Linked DNA regions of Homo sapiens: regions 2 and 3 are each linked to region 1. Evidence: promoter capture Hi-C in human tissues and cell types (Jung and others, 2019). All regions are on one chromosome and are shown on one strand. Each heading gives the region's core, a stretch centred on a gene start or on the middle of the fragment in contact. The rest is flanking DNA. Distances are from core to core; before and after follow the strand shown. Region 1 holds the start of CST4 (cystatin S). Region 2 overlaps LOC105372575 (a long non-coding RNA gene). Region 3 has its middle 15 kb from the start of CST1.

Evidence for each region. Contacts are between HindIII fragments. The study calls those that stand out against the background at their distance.
Region 2: a fragment that was not itself captured here is called in contact with the fragment with the promoter of CST4 in region 1 in 5 of the 25 tissues and cell types used here (H1 embryonic stem cells, dorsolateral prefrontal cortex, heart left ventricle and 2 more).
Region 3: a contact is called between a fragment that was not itself captured here and the fragment with the promoter of CST4 in region 1, in 6 of the 25 tissues and cell types used here (H1 embryonic stem cells, heart right ventricle, mesenchymal stem cells and 3 more).

Annotation. Positions count from the first base shown.
Region 1 is chr20:23,687,687-23,690,387 of GRCh38, forward strand. It overlaps CST4 (cystatin S), which reads right to left and starts at 1,352. Exons shown (of 3, transcript NM_001899.3): 1 at 1,056-1,352. The coding sequence starts at 1,283. The HindIII fragment of the contact is 7,573 bases long and covers 1-2,701 here.
Region 2 is chr20:23,814,615-23,817,315 of GRCh38, forward strand. All of the region lies in intron 1 of LOC105372575 (a long non-coding RNA gene), which reads left to right. Among named protein-coding and RNA genes, the nearest start is that of CST2, 11 kb to the right of the region's middle. The HindIII fragment of the contact is 7,850 bases long and covers 1-2,701 here.
Region 3 is chr20:23,764,193-23,766,893 of GRCh38, forward strand. No RefSeq gene overlaps it. Among named protein-coding and RNA genes, the nearest start is that of CST1, 15 kb to the left of the region's middle. RefSeq lists an enhancer at 235-1,099. The HindIII fragment of the contact is 4,040 bases long and covers 1-2,701 here.

The DNA of each region.
Region 1 (2,701 bases), core at 102-2,601:
ATTGCAGATTATAATTGAACCCTTTCCCTGCACAGGGCCTCTCCCAGACACTACGTGGCAGAGCTGTGGAGAAACCTGGGATGAGGGACTCTTTGGAACCAGGAGGAACTGCTGAGATCCCTCGAGTATCAGTTTACCCATGTATAAAATAGGCTTCCAGGTCTGATGGTCTGCAATGCCCTGTGCTTCACTCCAAGTTACTGTCATGCTTAAGAGGGAGATGCAGGCCAGCGGGGACCATGGCACCAGGGAGTGCACCTCCTGTGCAGGGTGAGGGCTCCAGCTGACAGCTGTAGGAGGAGAAACGGGACTGGTCTGGATTCCTTTGAATTTCTAGAAGGTGGAGGAGCTCTAAAGGCTGTGTCACTATTTGCTGCTCTGCCATGGGATGCAGGTCAAGCTGGGCCCAGTTGCCCTGCTGAAGCTCACTCTGGACCTAACCCCTCCTCTGCTCTGCTGGGTGACTGCTGTCCTCATCTGGCTGAGGTCTAACTCTGCATCAGCTCGTAGAGGCAGGGCCAGGCGTGCTCCACCCCAGCAGGGACTCAGCCATCCTGGCCTGCAGGGGTGGGTCAGCCTGCCTGAGGGTGAAGGCCACTAGCCCTAAGGGGCTGTGCCCAAGGGCATGACTTGGGGAAGGAAGAAGGGCTCTGCAGAACAGGGAGCCAGGTTCCCATGTGGCCCCTGAGGAGAGGACTCAGGGAGGAGAATGAGCCTCACCGCCTGGATCTCATCCTGAGCAGCATCAAGCCCACCCAGAGTCAGCACAGTCTCCATCCACACCTGCTGGACGCTGGGAAATGCCACGGTCATGGTACAGACACAGCAGCTGCTGCAGGTTAAAGGAAGCTGCAGCACTTCCTTTAACTGTCTGCAGTGCATGGACCGGGAGCATGCTTAGGCATGAAGGGCATCAGCGGAGAGTCAGAGAAAGCTGAATGAATCTGAGCATTAGATCATGAATGTGTCAGTGTTGATTTGCTTGGAATGCTCTTGGGGGTCCGGCAACAAACCAGGCTAGGGCTCAGGACCCCTCGGGTGGAGGCAGCACCCACCTGCTCCCTGGCTCGCAGCACCTGCAGCGGGCGTCTGTAGTACTCATCTTCGGTGGCCTTGTTGTACTCGCTGATGGCGAAGTGAAGGGCACGCTGTACCCACTCATCATTGAGGTCTGCATCATAGATGCCACCTGGGATTATCCTATTCTCCTCCTTGGAGCTCGAGGCCAGAGCCCCAGCCAGGGTAGCCATCAGGAGTAGCAGGGTACACAGAGGCCGGGCCATGGTCTCCTCAGAGGCAGAGCACAAAGCTGGAGCTGCAGGAGAGGAGGGTGAGAGCCCGAGGCAGGGAGCCCAGACCAGCAGGCAGGTGTGCATTTATCCTGCTTTGGCAGCCCAGCCCCACCCACCTCCATGCCCTGCCCCTGACTCCTCCTCCTCTTTCTGCCCATCCCCTCTTTCTCCATCTCTCTTTTCACTCCCCCACCACTACAAGCTCCCTCCCTGCCTAAGTTCCCCCTGCCCCTCCCAGGCCTCCTCCTCCATCTCCCCCTCCTCCCCACTCCAGTCCTCACTGCAGCCTCCCTGAGCCATGCCTCTCTTCCCCAGTGCTCCCAAGCTTGAGTCACCCAGGTCTCCACAGAGGTGACACTGGTCCTTTGACTGTGAAAGCAATGTGACTTCCTGTTTGCTCAGAAAGGGGAAAAATACAGGGCTTGGCCTCCCGGGGTCTTCAGATATCAGAGGCTTCCAGGAGCACTTGGTCACGGTCTCTGAATCTCTGGAACAGAGAGGTTATTTCAGAAGGTTCCAGAAGACCCTGTCCACACCCTAATATGGAGAATTTCTTTGCCAAATTTAAGGGAATTAACCTTTTTGGAAAAGGTCACTGGCTTCTGTTTTCATAACTCATTATTCAATAAACAAACCTATCACCAGTTACTGCCCATGCCAGGAGGTCTAGGGCTTGAAGACGGAACCTGGATGATGAGCCATAGAGGTGACATTGCAGAGCTGCTGCCCACAGAGATGTGACATGAACCCACAAGCATTTGAAAATTTCTAGTAGATGCATTTTAAAAGATGAGAATAAATGGGTGAAAGTAATGTTTAAAATATTTATTTAACCTAATATAGCCACAATATTATTTCAGCTAACGGGAACAATTATTAATGAGATCGTTTATGTGTGTTTTTTTTTTTTGGTTTTGTAAATCTTTGAAATTCCCTGTGTATTTTTTACACTTAGCCCAGGAATCATTTTGGACTGGCCCCATTTCAAGTGTCCTGTGGCACATGTGGCTGGTGGCTGTGGAACTGCACAGTAAATTCCTACACAGTGTGTGTAGAGGATGGTAGGTTACGATCAACAATTAGGATCAGGGAGTTATACTCACTCTGTTGGAAGTGAAATAGAACAGGGGCTAGAGAGAGACCACTGGACCCTGGTCAGGGTGGTCTCTATGAGACTGGAGAGGTTGAGCAGCCCCAGGCAGCGGGGAACAGCCAGTGCAAAGGCCCTGAGGTGGGGTTGGGACATGCCTGCTCCAGGAAGAGGAAGCTCCTGGAGGGGATGTGAGCAAGGGAGGAAACCACCTGGAGTCTCACGGTAACTGTGGGTGAGGACCGGTGGAAGGTGCACGGAGACCCCTGTGAGGCAGTGGGGGTGTCAGGAGAGGGAGCAGCAGCCACGGGATGAATGT
Region 2 (2,701 bases), core at 99-2,598, 130 kb after region 1:
AGTAAGCCATGGGCCCTGAACAAAATCTGAAGACATTATTAAACCTGGCAACTTCAGTGTTCTATAATAGGGACCAAGAGGAACAGGCCCAAAAGGAAAAGCAAAATCAGAGAAAGGCCACAGCTTTAGTCATGGCCTCAGACAAACAAACACTGGTGGTTCAGAGAGGACAGAAAATGGAGCAGGCCAATCACCAGGTAGCGCTTGTTATCAGTGTGGTTTACAAGGACACTTTTAAAAGATTGTCCTATGAGAAACAAGCTGCCTCCTCGTCCGTGTCCACTATGCCGAGGCAATCACTGGAAGGCACATTGCCCCAGAGTGCAATGGTTCTCTGGGCCAGAAGCCCCCAATCAGATGATCCAACAACAAGACTGAGGGTGCCCGGGGCAAGTGCCAGCTCATGTCATTACTCTCACTGAACCCCGGGTATGTATAACCATTGAAGGCCTGGAAATTGACTTCCTCCTGGACACTGGCACAGCTTTGTCAGTGTTAATCTACTGTTCTGGACAGCTGTCCTCAAGGTCTGTTACCATCTGAGGAATCCCGGGACAGGTATTTCTCCCACTTCCTCAGTTGTAATTGGGAGACTTTGCTCTTTTCACATGTCTTTCTTGTTATGCCTGAAAGTTCCATACCCTTATTAGGGAGGGATATATTAGCCAAAGCTGCAGCTATTATTTACATGAATATGGGGGAAAAGTTACCCATTTGTTGTCCCCTGCTTGAGGAGGGAATCAACCCTGAAGTCTGGGCATTGGAAGGAACAAACTCAAGCTCCAGCCTTAAACCTTCCCACAGGACAAAACTTCTCTTTATACATCACAAGGAGAGCAGGAATAGCTCTTGGAGTCCTTACTCAGACTCGTGGGACAACCCCACATCAGTGGCATACTTAAGTAAGGAAGTTGATGTGGTAGCAAAAGGCTGGCCTCACCATTTATGGGTGGTTGTGGTGGTGGCCATCTTAGTGTTAGAGGTTATCAAAATAATACAAGGAAAGGATCTCACTGTCTGGACTACTCATGATGTAAATGACATACTAGGTGCCAAAGGAAGTTTATGGTTATCAGACAACCATCTACTTAGATACCAGGCCCTACTCTTTGAGGGACTGGTGCTTCAAATATGTACATGCATGGCCCTCAACCCTGCCACTTTTCTCCCAGAGGATGATGAGCCAATCAAGCATGACTGCCAACAAATTATAGTCCAGATTTATGCCACCTGAGATGATCTCTTAGAAGTCCCCTTAACTAATCCTGACCTTAACCTATATACTGATGGAAGTTTATCTGTGGAGAATGGGATATGAAGGGCAGGTTATGCCATAGTAACAGTACTTGAAAGTAAGGCCTCTTCCCCCAGGGACCAGCGCCCAGTCAGCAGAACTAGTGGCATTTACCCAAGCTTTAGAACTGGGAAAGGGAAGAAGAATAAATATGTATACAAATAGCAAGTATGCTTATCTAATCCTACATGCCCATGCTGCAATCTGGAAAGAAAGGAAGAACCCCCATTAAATACTACAAGGAAGCCATGGAGTTATTGCATGCAGTGCAAAAATCCAAGGAGGTGGCAGTCTTACACTGCCAAACCCATCAAAAGGGGAAGGAGAGGGGAGAACAGCAGCATAAGCAGCTGGCAGAGGCAGGGAAAGACCAGCAGAAAGGAAAGAGAGAAAGAGACAGAAAGTTAGAGAAAGAGACAGAGAGAGGAAGAGAGAGAGAAAAAAGGAGTCAGAGAGAAAGAAAGAAAGAGACAAAGTCAAAGAGACAGAGGAAGAGAGAGAGACAAAGAGGGAGTCAGAAGAGAGAAAAAGAGAGACACAGAAAGTCAAAGAGAGAGAGGAAGAGACAGACAAAGAGAGAAACAAAGAGAAAGACAAAGAAAGAGAGAGACAAAGAAATCAAAGAGAAAGAGAGAAGTAGTAAAGAAAAAAGTGTACCCTATTCCTTTAAAAGCCAGGGTGAAATTAAAACCTATAATTGATAAATGAAGGTTTTCTCTGTAACCCTATAACACTCCAATACCACCTTGTCAGTGTAAACAAGGGTGTAGCCTGAAAGCACTGAGGCCACTGACAACCTGTAGCCTTCCTATCAAAAATCCTTAACCCAGTAGGTTTCCTAACAGGGGATCTAAATCTTAATTAATTACTATACAAAGGTCCGACCAGATCTAGGAAGAACTCTCTTCAGGATAGGAGGATAGATGGTTCCTCCCAGGTGATAAAGGAAAAAGACACAATGGGTATTCAGTAAGTGATAAGGAAAATCATAGAATCAGAATTAGGAAAATTTTCTAATAATTGATCTGCTCAAGGGTGCGAGCTGTTTGCACTAACCCAAACCTTAAAGTACTTACAGAATCAGGAAGGAGCCATCCATACCAGTTCTAAGTTAATATGGACTGAACGAGGTCTTATTAATAGTGAAGAATAATTGAAATTCCAAACTTAAAAGGTTTTCAACAAAAGTAAAGTTTGCTAAAAGTTAACAGTGCAAACATATATTATCCTAACTTCTAGTCTTGTGAAATCAGACCCTATCAGTACCCTATAACTGATATTATAGCCCAAGTATAATTGATATTATAGCTCAATTACCCTATAACTGATATTAAAGCTCAAGTCCGTCAGTGCAGAGCTATACAACTAATACCCCTACTTACAGGGTTAGGAATGGCTACTGCTACA
Region 3 (2,701 bases), core at 80-2,579, 76 kb after region 1:
AAGAATCCTGGCACCATGAAACATCTGAATATTGTGAGACCATCAAGGATCTCACTATCTCCCCAGCAATGGTTCCTAACCAAAATGAAAACTCAAAAATGACAGATAAAGAATTCAAAGCATACATTGCTAAGAAGCTCAATGAGATCCAAGACAATATTCAAAATCAACAAAAACAAATTTCTTAAGCAATCCAGGAGATGAAGAAAGAAATACACATTTTAAAAAGAAATCAATCAGAGTTTGTGGAATTGATAAACTCCACTTAAGGAATTTCAAAATACAGTTGAAAGCTTTATTATTAGACTAGACCAAACAAAAAAACCACTTCAGAGCTTGAAGATTGGTACTTTGAACTAACCCAGACAGACAAAAATAATGAACAGTCTCTGAGAAATATGAAATTATATAAAATGACCAAACCTCTGAATTGTTAGCATTCCTGAGAGACAAGGAGAAAACATAAACAATGTGGGAAACATATCTGAGGTAATCCAAGAAAATTTCCCTAATCTTGCTAGTGTCATAGACATCTAGACACAAAAAATGAAGAGAACACCTGCGAGATACTGTCAGGACTCTGAGCCTAAGCTAAGCCATCATATCCTCTGTGACTTGCAGGTACACATCCAGATTGCCATTTCCTGCCTTAACTGATGACATTCCACCACAAAAGAAGTGAAAATGGCCTGTTCCTGCCTTAACTGAAGACATTGTCTTGTGAAATTCCTTCTCCTGGCTCATCCTGGCTCAAAAGCTCCCCTACCGAGCACCTTGTGACCCCCACTCTCCTGCCCACCAGAGAACAACCCCCCTTTGACTGTAATTTTCCTTTACCTACCCTAATCTTATAAAACAGCCCCACCCCATCTCTCTTTGCTGACTCTCTTTCAGACTCAGCCTGTCTGTCTGCATCCAGGTGATTAAAAGCTTTATTGCTCACACAAAGCCTGTTTAGTGGTCTCTTCACACAGACGCACATGAAAGATACTACACAAAATGAACATCAATGCCTATAGTCACCAGGTTTTTCAAGGTCAATTATATAAAAAATCTAAAAGCATCTAGAGAAAAATGTCAGATAATGTACAAAGGAAGCCCCATCAGTTTAACTGCAAAGTTCTCAGTGGCAACTGTACAAGTCAGAAGTGATGGGAGCCTATTTTCAGCATTTTTAAAGACAAGAAAATTCAACCAAGAATTTCATATTCTGTCAAACTAAGCTTTAGAAGCAAAGAGAAATAAAATGTTTTTCAGGCAAACAATCACTAAGGAAATTTGTTACCACTAGACCAGCCTTACATGAGATTCTTCAGGAAGTACTACACATGGAAACAAAAGATCCCTGCTACCATAAAAACAAACTTAAGTACATAGTCCACAGACCTTAAATGACCATACGTAGTCATAGTTATAATTTTTCCCATTGTACAGATGAGTTAACTGAGTCTCCTCGAGATGACATCCCTCGCTCTCTCAGCAGGGGCTCCATCCACCAGTTTCCCCTTTACCAGTGAGACTTCATTCTCTCAGCTACTGGGAGTGTGGCCGCTGATGGCTCACAGTTGAGTCCTTCTGTGGGCATTGATCTGAGTCAAAGGAAGCTGCTTTGTCCAAGTTCATGCCCCTCCTGGAATTGCCTATTTTAAATAATAGGTCTATATGCGGGTACAAAATGTTGACTCTTTTGCCCTGATATGCTACCACTCTGAGGCCATCCCCATTGCAGAGCTCTCCATGGGCCTGGCTGTGGCTGTCATCTGCTGAGCTGCACCCCTGCCTGACTTCTTCCTCTGCCCTACCCCATGCCCCTGCCTCCCCAGCACATGCCTCAGTGAGCCTCTTGCCCATGAATCTCCATCTGGGTCTGTTTCCAGGAACCCTAACCAAGAGATGGTGGAGTCAGGACTCACACCACAAATATCCTGCCTTTTAAACTACAGTGGGTGTTAGGTCTGTGAATGTTTGGAGGGTGGAGCAATTCTTGTCTAGGAGACTGGATGTCTCTCTTCTCAGGATTCAAGGGGTAGGATGTTCCAAATGCATTCAGACCTGAGACTTATTTGGAAAAATGGTGTTTTATCTGGAAAGTTCCCTGTTCTTGAAAATCTCTCACTCAGCAGGACTATTTTTCCCTCCTTACTCCTTAGTAAAATGAAAACCAAAGCTTCCATTTGCATTGGTCTTGGTGAAATATTTCACTTACCAAATTTCTTTGGATCTACCTGATGGGGAAGGCTAGGCAGGTAACACAAACCCTTTGTAATTTTGAGGAAATATGTAGAAGGCAATTTGGGGACAATAAGCCAGGTCATGTAATTTTCAGATACATTTTGTTCACATTGCACAATAAGCTTCATTTGCCACCCTGGCTCTGGGACTGGCACTTAGTGATGTGTCAGCTCCATCATTCCTGGAAGTATCCTGGCTGCAGAGAGGAAGAGTCCTGAGAAACACAGGCTACCTCTCCCATGATGACACTGGTCATTTACCAAAGGCCATGGGGGTGGTGTTCACAGAGTTGGTGCAGTGTCCTCAGCAGGGGCCCAGGTGGTTTCCTTCCATCTTCTCCATCATTCATTGGGCTCTTGTTGTTGGGCACACGGCTCATAGTGAAAGGCAGACACCATAGTTGGGACATTCTGTCCCACACTACAGCCTGAAAGATGAGGAGCAGGAGCAGGAGGAGGTCACAGGTGGT